Regions from separate parts of the Homo sapiens genome. Here regions 1, 2, 3 and 5 are each linked to region 4. Evidence: promoter capture Hi-C in 16 types of primary human blood cells and fetal thymus (Javierre and others, 2016). All regions are on one chromosome and are shown on one strand. Each heading gives the region's core, a stretch centred on a gene start or on the middle of the fragment in contact. The rest is flanking DNA. Distances are from core to core; before and after follow the strand shown.

Evidence for each region. Contacts are between HindIII fragments. The CHiCAGO score rates a contact against its expected background, and 5 or more counts as called.
Region 1: a contact is called between the fragment with the promoter of DIP2B here and the fragment with the promoter of CELA1 in region 4, in 1 of 17 cell types (fetal thymus). The highest score is 6.0, in fetal thymus.
Region 2: a contact is called between the fragment with the promoter of ATF1 here and the fragment with the promoter of CELA1 in region 4, in 8 of 17 cell types (neutrophils, endothelial precursors, fetal thymus and 5 more). The highest score is 11.1, in neutrophils.
Region 3: a contact is called between a fragment that was not itself captured here and the fragment with the promoter of CELA1 in region 4, in 6 of 17 cell types (activated CD4 T cells, total CD4 T cells, total B cells and 3 more). The highest score is 7.6, in activated CD4 T cells.
Region 5: a contact is called between a fragment that was not itself captured here and the fragment with the promoter of CELA1 in region 4, in 2 of 17 cell types (M2 macrophages and activated CD4 T cells). The highest score is 5.8, in M2 macrophages.

The regions. Positions count from the first base shown.
Region 1 is chr12:50,503,569-50,506,268 of GRCh38, forward strand. It overlaps DIP2B (disco interacting protein 2 homolog B), which reads left to right and starts at 1,417. Exons shown (of 38, transcript NM_173602.3): 1 at 1,417-1,672. The coding sequence starts at 1,573. RefSeq lists a silencer at 1,720-1,829. The HindIII fragment of the contact is 3,121 bases long and covers 1-2,649 here.
Region 2 is chr12:50,762,633-50,765,399 of GRCh38, forward strand. It overlaps ATF1 (activating transcription factor 1), which reads left to right and starts at 1,469. Exons shown (of 7, transcript NM_005171.5): 1 at 1,469-1,675. RefSeq lists silencers at 1,423-1,502, 1,723-1,812 and an enhancer at 2,233-2,332. The HindIII fragment of the contact is 10,692 bases long and covers 1-2,767 here.
Region 3 is chr12:50,816,088-50,818,787 of GRCh38, forward strand. The region is part of intron 6 of ATF1 (activating transcription factor 1); the gene reads left to right. Among named protein-coding and RNA genes, the nearest start is that of TMPRSS12, 25 kb to the right of the region's middle. The HindIII fragment of the contact is 4,813 bases long and covers 1-2,700 here.
Region 4 is chr12:51,345,290-51,347,989 of GRCh38, forward strand. CELA1 (chymotrypsin like elastase 1) reads right to left here and starts at 1,390. Exons shown (of 8, transcript NM_001971.6): 1 at 1,334-1,390; 2 at 506-588. The coding sequence starts at 1,349. The HindIII fragment of the contact is 4,543 bases long and covers 1-2,700 here.
Region 5 is chr12:50,780,060-50,782,759 of GRCh38, forward strand. ATF1 (activating transcription factor 1) reads left to right here. Exons shown (of 7, transcript NM_005171.5): 2 at 81-179. The coding sequence starts at 87. Among named protein-coding and RNA genes, the nearest start is that of ATF1, 17 kb to the left of the region's middle. The HindIII fragment of the contact is 3,767 bases long and covers 1-2,700 here.

The DNA.
Region 1 (2,700 bases), core at 167-2,666, 840 kb before region 4:
CGCCATGTTCTCAGCTCACTGTAACCTTGGCCTCCCGGGTTCAAGCGACGTTCCTACCTCAGCTCCCCCAGGTAGCTGGGATTACAGGCATGTGCCACTACTCCCGGCTAATTTTTGTGTTTTTAGTAGAGACGGGGTTTCGCCATGTTGGCCAGGCTGGTCTCGAACTCTTGACCTCAGGTGATCCGCCCACCTTGGCCTCCCAAAGTGCTGGGATCATAGGTGTGAGCCACTGCACCTAGCCTTGGACCCTCTTCATATTAAATTAAAATTAATGTTTTTGGAACACCTATTAGGCCACAGAGTGAGGAGGATGAGTTAAAGTAAGTTCCCTCCTTGTAAGTAGTTAGAAGTATAGAAAGAAAGAAGTGGACCTGCTCTCTATTGTCTTTTTCTTTTCTTTAGACGGAGTGTTTGCTCTCTTGCCCGGGCTGGAGTGCAATGACGCGATCTCAGCTTACTGTAACCTCTGCCTCCTGGGTTCAAGTGATTCTCCTGCCTCAGCCTCTTGAGTAGCTAGGAGTACAGGCATCCGCCACCACGCCCGGCTAATTTTTGTATTTTTATTGGAGACGGGGTTTCACCATGTTGGCCAGGCTGGCCTAGTACTCTTTTTTTTTTTTTTTTGAGTCGGAGTCTCGCGCTCACGCTCAGGCTGGAGTGCAGTGGCGTGATCTTGGCTCACTGCAAGCTCCGCCTCCCGGGTTCACGCCATTCTCCTGCCTCAGCCTCCCGAGTAGCTGGGACTACAGGCGCCCGCCACCACGCCCGGCTAATTTTTTGTACTTTTAGTAGAGACGGGGTTTCACCGTGTCAGCCAGGATGGTCTCGATCTCCTGACTTCGTGATCCACCCGTCTCGGCCTCCCAAAGTGCTGGGATTACAGGCGTGAGCCACCGCGCCCGGTCGGCTAGCCTGGTACTCTTAACCTCAGGTGATCCACCAGCCTCAGCCTCCCAAAGTGCTAGGATTACAGGCGAGAGCCACCGCGCCTGTCTTTTTAAAAGCTAAAACTGAAACGGAAACAGAGCTCCTGGCAGATAGGACCAGGAGCCACAGCGAAGGAGGTGGCCTGTGATTAGGTTTTTATAAATGGGCAGGTATTAATCAGGGAAAATGGAGTAAAGGACACGATAGACATACATTGCTAAGTCTAGTATTGGAAAAAGTAAGGCCTGGGACCCCTAAAAACTTGCTCGAGAGTGAAAGGTAAATGCTATGTGTCCACACTACTGTGGTAAAGCCGACAGTCCATACCATGAGCCCATTTCGCGCAGGGAAATTCGAGTGGTGGGCTTGGGCCCGTCGTTCTGGTAGCTTCCCAGTAGAGGGCGCCGTAAGCATATGCGTCTTCAGCCTGACTGGGCTGGAGAGGCGGTGCGTCCTCCTGGCCGGGGGGCGGGGGCCGTCGCGCTCACGTGACCTTTGCTCATGGCGGCGGCGGCGGCGGCGGCGGTGCTGGTGGTGCTCGGCGGCCGGAGCCGGATCCTGTAGCCGGGTGTGGGCCCGTGTCTGTCCGTCCCTCCTTCGGCCCCCTCTCTTGTCTTCCGGAGTGTGGCTGGCGGAGCTGGGATGGCGGAACGAGGCCTGGAGCCGTCGCCGGCCGCGGTGGCGGCGCTGCCGCCTGAAGTGCGGGCGCAGCTGGCGGAGCTGGAGCTGGAGCTCTCGGAGGGTAGGAGCCGGGCCGGGGAGAGGGCGCCCGGGGCCCTGCGGATCGCGGCGACTTGGGAGACAGGTCCCCGCCGCGCGCTCTGGCGGCCGTGCGGCGAGGGGGACGAGGGTGTAGAGAACCTGGCCTGGCGCTCCACGACCGTTTTCCCTCCTCTCCCACCCCATTAAGTGGTTTCCTGTGGCTTTCATTGTTTTCCCATGGAGGGGACTAAGTAAGGGCTTGTGGAAAGGTCCTCCCGGGCCCACACTGCTTCTGCGCTTCCTGCCCCCCAAAACCCGAGACAAAGCTGCGCCCTCCCGCTTCTGCCCAGGCGTCTGGCCCAGGTGGGGTGAGGGGTAGGGCTGCGAGGAGGGTGGCTGACAGCTTTCTCCTTTCCTCTCCCCTTTTCGTGGAGGGCTCCACGCCTTGTTCCAGCCCCCCCTTCCCCCTTTCAAAAAGAGACACATGGGAAATCCGCAGCATCATTTCTTCTCTTTCCTTTAACAATGCGCGATGCCTCCCCAGTGACAGGAGTGAGACACAAGCGGGTGAGCCATTTAGGGTCCTAGGAAGATAAGAAGCAATGGCATTAACCCAGAGAGACACACGGTGCTGCTTTTAGACCACCTTTGTCATAAGAAGTTTTTTTTTTTCCTGGTGCCTGTTATTCGGGCCGAATTTTCCGCATCTGGTCACCTTTTGGAGTCTTTGATGAAGGAAGGAGAGGAGGCTACCGTTTACTTGCAAATCCTGGCTGGCATTCTTTCTTTTGACAATGGATTGGGACAGGGAGGGTTCGATTTATTTTCAGAATTAAAAAAAAAAAATGGGATAAATCAAGCCACTGTTATTAGAGAACTCCTTGTACAACAATGAGAGAAACACAGTGCTCCGTTGTGGGCATGTGATCAGGCTTCTGGGGCAGTTGTGATCAGTTCTGTGTAAAGTTCCTGTTTTTATCACTGGCTGCCCCTGAGACAAAAGCAGCATTTTCTCCAAGCTTGATACCAGTACTTTGATTGTGTCTCCAGAGTTGCATATTCTTACTG
Region 2 (2,767 bases), core at 219-2,718, 580 kb before region 4:
TTATATCACATTCTCCGACCCAAAGGGCCAAAAATAGGCAAAGCTCTCTCCACTAAATCGGTTTCCTAAATTGGGGATCTCAAACTAGTAAAATTTCAGAAAACTTTCGGAACTTTTGTCAAGAGCATACTAAAAAAGTTTATCTTTTGTCGTTTACTATCATTAAAGCCATAAAACAGCATTTTACAAGGAAATTTTAAAAATTAAGAATAAGGCATAACTCCCTTCCAGAGAGGTAGACCCAAAAATATTCTGAAGTTTTTGTAATGCATTAAAATGACGGCATAACATTTTATTAACACTCTGTTACGTTTCTTTTTTCTTTTTTTTTGAGACAGTTTTGCTCTTGTTGCCCAGGCTGGAGTGCAACGGTGCGATCTCGGCTCACCGCAACCTCCGCCTCCCGGGTTCAAGCGATTCTCCTGCCTCAGCCTCCCAAGTAGCTTGGATTACAGGCATTCGCCACCACACCCGGCTACTTTTGTATTTTTTAGTAGAGACGGGGTTTCTCCATGTTGGTCAGGCTGGTTTCGAACTCCCGATCTCAGGTGATCCGCCCTCCTGGGCCTCCCAAAGTGCTGGGATTACAGGCATGAGCCACCGCGCCCGGCCACATCGTTATGTCTCATTGTAAATCCGTTTCTGTAGAAAATCCTTCCACATGGGTTAAAGGACACAACTCATTGTTACTTTATGGGATTAAGAAAAATCTGAGTAAGGCCGGGCACGGTGGCTCACGCCTGTAATCCCAGAACTTTGAGAGGCCGAGGCGGAGGATCACTTGAGCCCAGGAGTTCAAGACCAGCCTGAGCAACATAGAGTCCTCATCTCTTCAAGCCGAGCGTGGTAGCGCGCGCCTGTGGTCCCAGCTGCCCCATAGGCTGAGGTTGGAGAATCGCTTGAATCCCGGGGTTGGAGGCTGCAGTGAGTCGAGATCGAACCACTGCACTACAGCCTGGGCCACAGACCCCCGTCTCAATCTCGGAAAAAAAAAAGAGACTCCATCTAAAAAAAAAAAAAAAAAAAAAAAGCTGAGGAAGTCAAAGCCTTCACTCTTCATTTCTCCTTCCAAGAGGACAGGGCCGGCGTCGGTCAAGGTCAATTGGCAGGTGAGTTGACAGCGCCGCCACTAATCGATGAAAACGCCCCCCGCGAGCACCCAGCTGCTCATGGCCTCCGGAAGCGGACGTAGGGCGGGTGGGGTACAGCTCCTAAGGAGAAACGGAACCGCAGGCACCGTCCCTCTCCCGCTGCAGCCTGAGGAACGCGTTCCGAGGAACCCCTAGCCACAAGTCAGGACCGCGTACAAGATGGCGGCGCGTCACGTGGGCAGCGCGGTGACGCAGGACGGCGGCCCGCGCGGAGGCAGCGCCATAGCCTACCCCAAACGCACACTAGTGCTCAGTTTTGCCCCCCTCCCCTCCCCCGCCCCCGCCCCCGCCCCCAGGCTTGTGTAGATCATGCCGCCAGTAGCGGCCCTGACTGCCGAGGAAACGGTAGCTTAGGACAGTTGGCTGTTAAGTGACACTGATTCTCCCCGCCCCGCCTGACCCCCGAGAAGGAGGCTTGTCCCCCGCTGCGTGAGGGGGTGGGGAAGTGGGTAGTGAATTCGGATCTACCTGGGAGGGGGGAGTGGAAGTTCCCGCCCCGGAGAGCGGCGAGGCGGCAGCCACAGGTAAGTGGGGGGCGGGGAGGGACGTGCCCCGTGGCCCGGGCGGGGAAGGACGCGGGAACGTGGCGCCGGCGGGGACGCAGCGCGGGTCGCGCGCCTGGTGGGGGTCGCGCGCGGTGGTGGCGGTGGGGGAGGGGCGCAGCGGCAGGGGGAGGGGCCGCCCGCGCTTCCGGCCTCCGCGCCTCGGTGCAGAGCTGCGCTGCGCCCTTCCAGTCGTGCGTCTCCTCCTTTCCCTCGCCCCCAAATAAAAGTAAAGCCCGAAACCGCCCGCCGCGGGGTGGCTTTCGCCTCAGAAGCCGCCCTTTGCAGTCGCAGGCGCTAGCTCTCCGTGGGAGGTCTCGAGGTTGGGCCCGGAGCCGGGCGGAGGGCGGCGCGGATATGGCCTCGGCGCGGTGTCCGCCGAGCGGAGCCCGGGTCTGGTTAACCCCGCGACAGGGTCCTCGAAGCGCGTCGGCGCTGGCGACCCTGAGGGAAGAGGCGCGCCCCTTACCCTCCTGGAGCTTGCAGTCTAGCGGGCAACCGACGCACGGGCATTGCGCACGCCCCAGACAGTCCTGGAGAGATGCGCCTGGCAGCGGAGACAGAGTGGGGACAGTAGGCGGCTTTACCCCTGGCTAGGAATGACACAAGGGCGTCTGTACCCTTTGGGATGGGCGACCCAGCCGAGGGTGACTTTCTCTTTGATCTTGTATGTCAAAAAACGAAGCCTGGCATTTCTCACTTTGATCGACGCCGTGCAGCTGGCGGCTGAATCGCTTTGAAATGATTGCAATGTGAAATAATGTCTGGTTGTGGCGCTAGTGTTTTGAAGAGATTGGGCAACTGGTAGTCTTTGAGAACCTTTAGGGTTCAGAAGCTCGGCGTGGATCTGGCAGGCATCTTTGTCAAACTGGCCTCACCTGTGATGAGTTCGTAGGCATTTATGTCTCAGAATGCATTTTAACCTGAGGTTTTTGTTAACAGAAATGCGTTCTTCTAAAATGCTCTTTTTTCTTGGAGTTTATCATATGCAGTTATCTCCGTGTCTTAATTAGAATCAATACTGTTGCCCTAAAGTCGAATGTATTAGCTCTTTAATACTTGCCGTTATCTTTT
Region 3 (2,700 bases), core at 125-2,624, 530 kb before region 4:
ACTTTGGGAGGCCGAGGCGGGAGGATCACTTGAGCCTAGGAGTTCAATGCAAGCCTGGGCAACATACCCATTGCTACAAAAGATAAAAAATTAGCCAGGCATGGTGGCGTGTGCCTAAAATCCCAGCTACTCGGGAGGCTGAGGTGGGAGGATTGCTTGAGCCCAGGGGGTTGAGGCAGCATGATCGCACCACTGCACTTCAGCCTGGGCAACAGAGCAAGACCCTATCTCAAGAAAAAAGAGAGAATGGAAAAATAGGTAACAGAGACTGGGAACGGTGAGGGGCAAGGAGGAGGATGAAGAGAGTTAAAGGGTACAAACCCATACACAGTAAGATAAAAGGAATAAATTCAGTGTTTCATAGCAGAGTAGGATGACCACCCTTAACAAAAACCTATTAATACTCAGGTGATGGACACCCTGAATCCCCTGACTTGATCGCTACACATTATATACATGTAACAGATTTTCTCATGTGCTCCATAAATATGCACAGAAACATTTTAATGGAAAAAACCATACAGGCCAGGCGTGGTGGCTCACACGTGTAATCCCAGCATTTTCGGAGGCCAAGGCAGGAGGATCACTTGAGCCCAGGAGTTTGAGACCAGCCTGGGCAATATAGGGAGACCCCATCTCTAAAAAAAATTTAAAACATTAGCTAGATGTGGTAGAGGCAGGAGAATCACTTGAACCTGGAGGCAGAGGTTGCAGTGAGCCATGATCACGCCATTGTACTTCAGCCTGGGCAACAGAGCAAGACTCTTGTCTCAAAAATAAAACAAACAAAAAAAAACACACAAGTAGTTAATAATCATATAAAAGACTACTCAGCCTTATTAGTAATCAAAGAAATACACATTAATGCTACACATTTAGATACCCTTTATACCCACCCAATTGGCAAAAATTTTAAAGTCTAACCAAGAGTTGGCAAGGATTTGGAACAATGGTCAGGAATTCATAGATACTACTATAGGAGTGTAAATTGATGCAGCCATTTTGGAAATTAGGCCTTATCTTGTACAGTTGACGTGGGTATACTCTGTGACCCAGCTGTTTTAGTCTGTGTGACTGAGAGGAACTTGGAGGAAGTATGTATAAGAATTTTCATAGCAGCAAAAAATCAGGAAACAACCTCAAGATTCATTGATAACAGAATAGGTACATATTGAGCCTAAACATAAAAATGGGGGGAAAAAAGAATAGGTACATAAATTGTGACTGTATTTATAGAATGGAATGTTTATTTGTAATGACTGAATGAATAATCATTTCAACATGAATAAATCTTAGAAAAATTGAATGAAAAAACAAGTTGCAACAGAATACACAAAGTATGATATTTTATAATTTTAGAAAATAAATGATAGCAGTTTTAGGGTCATATACGTATATACTACAACTATAAAAATAAGAAATGAGATGTCACGTAGCAAAAATTATAAAGTGGTAATACTGTCTGTCATTGGGCATATAAGGAAAAGGGTACCTCACATACATTACTGAGGGAAGTACGGAGTTTTATGGTATCTACTTGCCCCAACATTTCTACTTGTATGTGACAAAAGATACCATAAAGAAACTTAAAAATAAGTCTGTTAACTGGGAAAAATATTTGCAACTTTTATATAAAGAGAAAGAATTACGAGATGTATAGGTTATATAAAGATTTATTTCTGTAAATAAGAGACCTAACAGAAGGAAACCGGTCTGTGAAAGATGGCCTTGTAAACATGAAATTATTCCAAACTTTGTGCATAATGAGGGAAATGTTAAAGCAGTGAGGTTCGCTTTTTGTCAGCCGCTAGACTGACAACCATTTTAAAATGTTCATAACAGGCACTCTCATGTACTGCCCCTGGGAATGTAAATGGTACAAATACTCTGGAGGACATTCTGGCATTTTTTCCCTTTTTTCTTTCTGGTTTGACTCTGGGATTTTTTTCCTTCCTTTTTTCCCCCCTTATTTCTCTGTACTTCAATGAATATAAATTGGCACTATCTCTTGACTTTAAGTGAATATAGCTTGTGATCCTTCAAGAAATACATGTGTAGAAATACACGTAAAGAATGGAGGCTGAGTGGGTGGCTCATGCCCATAATCCCGACACCGTGACCAGGAGTGAGACCAGCCTAGGCAACATACTGAGACCTCATCTCTACAAAAATAAAATTAGCTGGTGTGGTGGTGTACACCTGTAGTCCCAGCTACTTGAGAGGCTGAAGTGGGGATATCTTGAGTCCAGGAGGTCAAGGTTGCAATGAGCTGTGATTGTGCCACTGCACTCAGCCTGGTTGACAGAGTGAGACCCTGTCTCAAAACAAAAGAAGAAAAAAGAAAAAGAATGTTTACTGGAAACCACTTAAAACAAACAAACAAACAGAGCTTAAAGGTAAAAATAAAGTCTTTTTGTGAGGGGAAAGATTTTGTACAGTCCTTTTAAAGATGTGTACTAAAAAGCAAGTTGCAAATAGTATCTACATATATAGCATAAAAATCTTAAAATAGTACTGTTTCTTTCTTTCTTTCTTTTTCTGAGACAGAGTCTTGCTCTGTTGCCCAGGGTGGAGTGCAGTGGCGCGATCTTGGCTCACTGCAACCTCCACCTCCCAGCTTCAAGTGATCCTCCTGGGTCAGACTCCCAAGTAGCTGGGATTACAGGCATGTGCCACCACAGCTAATTTTTGTATTTTTAG
Region 4 (2,700 bases), core at 140-2,639:
AGTTAATTTGCCAGGTTTACATATTTAGATCACTTAAATCAGGGCCCAGCTGCCCTGTTAGCAAAGTGGAAACTCTAAATAGCCAACTAAGCAGCATGCTGTACGTGTGTGTGTGTGTGTGTGCGCGCACATGCGTGCAAGCATTGTGACACACACAGTGTGGAGTGGTGTGCGTGTGAGTTTCAAGGTATGTGGAGTCCAAGGTGACTGTCTGGCACCCAGTCTTTCTTGCGTGGCACAAGTGCTGTCGCTGAGAATATAAATGTATCTTGTGTTTGGGTGTGTGCCTTGAAGAGGGACTGTGGTTGGTGTATAAATCCCCTCCTCCAAGCCTTTTGCATTTAGAAAACCACCTAAGCCTGATCCCATCCATCTTTAAAATCGAGAACCTAGACAATTGGAGAGCTGCTTGTTGATAGGGACATGCACAAATACACATGATACCTTATGTCATGCACTGAGCTCTTATTTGGGTGGAAGTCTGGGGCTGGGAAGGAACACCCACCTGAGAGGGCCAGGAATTCCTCCCGGCCTCAGTCCCTCCGACTACGCGGGCATTGGTTTCCGGAAGGTCCTGGGTGCTGTGTCCTTTGTGGGGCAGAAGAAAAGTGAGTGATGACTAAGCATGGGGTCAGCCAGGGGTAGGGGTGGGGGGTGGCGATTGTGCTTTGAGGAATGTTAGCCTTGTCTGCAAATTCACAGTTCCTCTCTAACGAATGAGGGGCCCAGCTGTGAGTTCTCTGAGCCCCTTTTGAAAACAGGGGTGCCTGGGTGCCTTCTGTTTCCCCCAGGTGTTCCCAGAACTCCGGCATGCTATGAAGGACCTCTCTCAAACCACCAGGCTAGGCCCCAGAGGCTCCTTGTGGTCTCCTCTTTGCTCAAGATCACCCTTTGGCCTGAAGAGACCCCCCCCCACTCTTTGACCCCCACCAGCCCCCTAATGCTTTGGCAAGATTCTCCAGGGTTCAGGGCCTGCAGTGCACACCCCAGCCAGGCACCTGCTGAGGAAGTCCTCCTGTCAATGGGGGTGGTGGGGAAGCCCAGGGACCCACCCCACTACCAGATGGGGCTTCTCTCTGCTTTGTGGCCCAGGGACCTGCCACCCAGAGGGGCCTGAATAGCCAGTGGCCCTGACCTTTTCTATCTTGGCCTCCAGGAGAGTAAAGGACGCTCTGCAGGCAGAGCGTCCCACCTGCCCTGGGACAGGGTGCTGGCCTGGACTTAGGGAAAATTTGCTGACCTTCCTGCCCAAGTCCCCCTCCCTATAGACCTCAGGCCACATGATCCACTTACCATAAAGGACCAGGGTTGCGACTGGACCATATCCACTTACCATAAAGGACCAGCATGTTGCCGATGGAGTAGACCACTGCCTTCTTGCTTGGACCAAGCCCTCTTTATACTCCTCTTAGCAGCAAAGCTGACTGTCTTCTTGCCAACTGGCAGGGCTGAGGGTGCAAGGCAGGGAAAATCACAAGTGACATGGAAATACAAATGAAAATATTTCTTTTCAAGTAAACTAATGTATCTGTTATTCAAAGACAGAACAAGGCCAGGGCTGAATTAATCATCTGCTTTTAATTGAAAAGCATCCAACAAACTCTTTTTCAGAAATAAGATGGAGAACCAGGGCTGGTTTTTCTCTAAGGGAGCACCCCTTGTCATCCATCACTCTCTCGTTGTCCTCAGTGGCACCATAAATGCAGAGACTTGCCCTGTGCACTAGCAGCTGGAGGCCAGGGGGATAGTGGAAGAGGGGGGAGTGGTTAGCAAGGGCAAGGAAGACACAGCAACTCTCTCTGCCCAAAGAGGGAGATGGCACATGCCCCCAGGATGCAGGCATAGGTGTAAATGCAGACACAAAAGCCAAATAGATGCAGTGGAGATAATTCTGGGGGAGGAAAGTACTGAGAAACAGGCTTGGGCCCTCTCAGATGGAGAGCCAAGAAGGGGCTCCCAGAGGAGAATATGAGGCAGGGTAGAGGAGGGGATCCTTGGGATGTGAAGACAGTCTGAGGGCTATGAGGGTAGATGGAGGGTGGAGGGCAGAGGGAGAACGAGGGTAGGAGCCGAGGTTCCTGCAGGAGATGAAAGGCTTTGTTCATCACAGTTCGTAGAGGAGAGAGAAGGGAGTTGCGGCCGGGCGCGGTGGTTTACGCCTGTAATCCCAGCACTTTGGGAGGCTGAGGCGGGCGGATCACAAGATCAAGAGATCGAGACCATCCTGGCCAACATGGCGAAACCCCGTCTACTAAAAATACAAAAATTGGCCGGGCGCGGTGGCTCATGCCTGTAATCCCAGCACTTTGGGAGTCGGAGGCGGGCGGATCACGAGGTCAGGAGATTGAGACTACTCTGGCTAACACAGTGAAACCCCGTCTCTACTAAAAAAATACAAAAAATTAGCTGGGCGTGGTGGCAGGCGCCTGTAGTCCCAGCTCCTCGGGAGGCGCAGGCAGGAGAATGGCGTGAGCCCGGGAGGCGGAGCTTGCAGTGAGCCGAGATCGCGCCACTGCACTCCAACCTGGGCGACAGAGCGAGACTCCATCTAAAAAAAAACAAAAACAAAATACAAAAATTAGCTGGGCATGGTGGTGCGCTTCTGCAGTCCCAGCTAATCTGGAGGCTGAGGCAGGAGAATCGCTTCAACCTGGGAAGCGGAGGTTGCTGCACTCCAGCCTGGAGACAGAGCAAGACTCT
Region 5 (2,700 bases), core at 102-2,601, 570 kb before region 4:
CAATTTTTATATGATTCTATAGTATACTGTAAACATTCTGTATCATATTTAATTTTAACGGACTTTTTTCCCCCTTATAGTTGATTATGGAAGATTCCCACAAGAGTACCACGTCAGAGACAGCACCTCAACCTGGTTCAGCAGTTCAGGGAGCTCACATTTCTCATATTGCTCAACAGGTAAGGGAGGGACTGGCCAAAATACTGAGCTTGTTAGGAATATTTTATATGCAGATTAATCTCGTTTCAGACTGATTATTAATGTGTTTTATTTTGGTTTTTGTTTTTTGGGTTTTTTTTTTCGAGGCAGATTTTTGCTCTAGTTGCCCAGGCTGGAGTGCAGTGGCATGATCTCGGCTCACTGCAACCTCCACCTCCTGGGTTCAAACAATTCTCCTACCGCAGCCTCCCAAGTAGCTGGGACTACAGGCATCTGCCACCACGCCTGGCTATTTTTTGTATTTTTAGTAGAGATGGGGTTTTACCATGTTGGCCAGGCTGGTCTCGAACTCCTGACCGCAGGTAACCCACCCACCTTGGCCTCCCAAAATGCTGGGATTACAGGTGTGAGCCACCAGACCTGGCATTAATGTTAAAAAAAAAAAAAAACAAAACAAGCAAAGGCCAGGCGCAGTGGCTCACGCCTGTAATCCTAGCACTTTGGGAAGTCAGGGCGGGCGGATCACGAGGTCAAGAGTTCAAGACTAGCCTGACCAACATGGCGAAACCCTGTCTCTAATAAAAATCAAAAATTAGCCAGGTGCAGTGGCGGTTGCCTGTAATCCCAGCTGCTCGGGAGGCTGAGGCAGGAGAATCGCTTGAGCCTGGGAGGTGGAGGTTGCAGTGAGCACAGACTATGCCACTGCACTCCAGCCTGGGCAATAGAACGAGACTCCATATCATAAAAATAAATAAATAAAAAATAAAATAGAAAAACAAGCAAAAAAGACTGTATAAAATGTTAAAATATAAGAAAAGAAGGTGGACTTTAAATATCTTGTCAAGATCATTTAGTTTTATTTTCTTTTAAACGAAGTATATAGTCATCTCTCAGTATCTGTGGGAGACTGGTTCCAGGACGTCCACAGATACCAAGATCTGTGATGCTTAAAGCCCCTGATAGAAAACGGCATGGTATTTATATATAACCTACATATTTTCCTGTATACTTTAAATCATTTCTAGATTACTTTTAATACCTAATACTATGTAAATGCTATGTGAATAGTTATACTATATGACAAGAAAAACAGTCGGTACATGTTCAGTATAGAGAAATTTTTTTTCCTGAATATTTTCAATCTGTGGTTGGTTGAATCCACAGATGTGAAACTCATGGATGCAGAACCCATGAATAAAGAGGCCTAACTGTATTTAGAGTTGTTTTCTTTGTTTTTGTTTTTGTTTTTCAAGGCAGGGTTTCGCTCTGTCGCTCAGGCTGGAGTGCAGTGGTACGATCTCGGGTCACTACAACCTCCGCCTCCCGGGTTCAAACGATTCTCCTGCTTCAGCCTCCCGAGTAGCTGGGATTACAGGCGCCCACCACCACACCCAGCTAATTTTTTGTATTTTTGGTAGAGACGGGGTTTCACCTGTTGGCCAGACTGGTCTCAAACTCCTGACCTCAGGTGATCCACCCACCTCAGCCTCCCAAAATGCTGGGATTACAGGCGTGAGCCACCGTGCCCGGCCAAAAAATTTTAAAAATTAGCTGGGTGTGGTGGCACTACAACACCTGTAGTAACAGCTACTTGGCTGAAGCAGGAGGATTGTTTGAGCCCAGGAGTTCAAGGCAGCAGTGAGCTATAATCATGCCACTGCACTCCAGCCTGGGTGACAGAGTGAGACCCTATCTCCAAAAAAAAAAAAAAAAAAATCATGCATGAGTGTAAGAGCCATTTAAAGTGCAAGATGAGACTAACGGATTTTAATGTTAACAATACACAAAGTTCAGACTGTACATGGCAAATAACCTTTAAGAAACTATAACTTGCTGAGTTTTGCTGCTGTATCAAAGAATACAATGAAATGAAAAGGCTTTTAAAACACTACACATCTTTTCTAATTGCATATCTATGTGAGGGCAGATTTTCTTCATATAATTCAACCAAAACAATGTATGATAACATAATTAATGTAGAATCAGATAAGAGATTTCAGCTGTTTTCTTTTTCTGTTTTTTTTGTTTGTTTGTTTATTTGTTTGTTTGTTTTTTGAGACAGTGTCTCGCTCTGTCGCCCAGGCTGGAGTGCAGTGGCGCGATCTCGGCTCACTGCAACCTCCGCCTTCCAGGTTCACGCCATTCTCCTGCCTCAGCCTCCCGAGTAGCTGGGACTACAGGCGCCCGCCACCACGCCCGGCTAATTTTTTGTATTTTTACTAGAGACAGGGTTTCATCGTGTTAGCCAGGATGGTCTTGATCTCCTGACCTCGTGATCCACCCGCCTCAGCCTTCCAAAGTGCTAGGATTACAGGCCTGAGCCACCACACCCGGCCTTTTTTTTTTTTTTTTTTTTAGTAGAGACAGAGTCTCACTATGTTGCCCAGGCTGGTGTCAAACTCCTGGGCTCAAGTGATCCTCAGCATCCCAAAGTGCTGGGATTATAGGTGTGAGCCACTGTGGCCAGCCTTTTTTTTTTTTTTTTTTTTGAGACGGAGTCTTGCTCTGTCGCCCAGACTGGAGTGCAGTGGTGCGATCTTG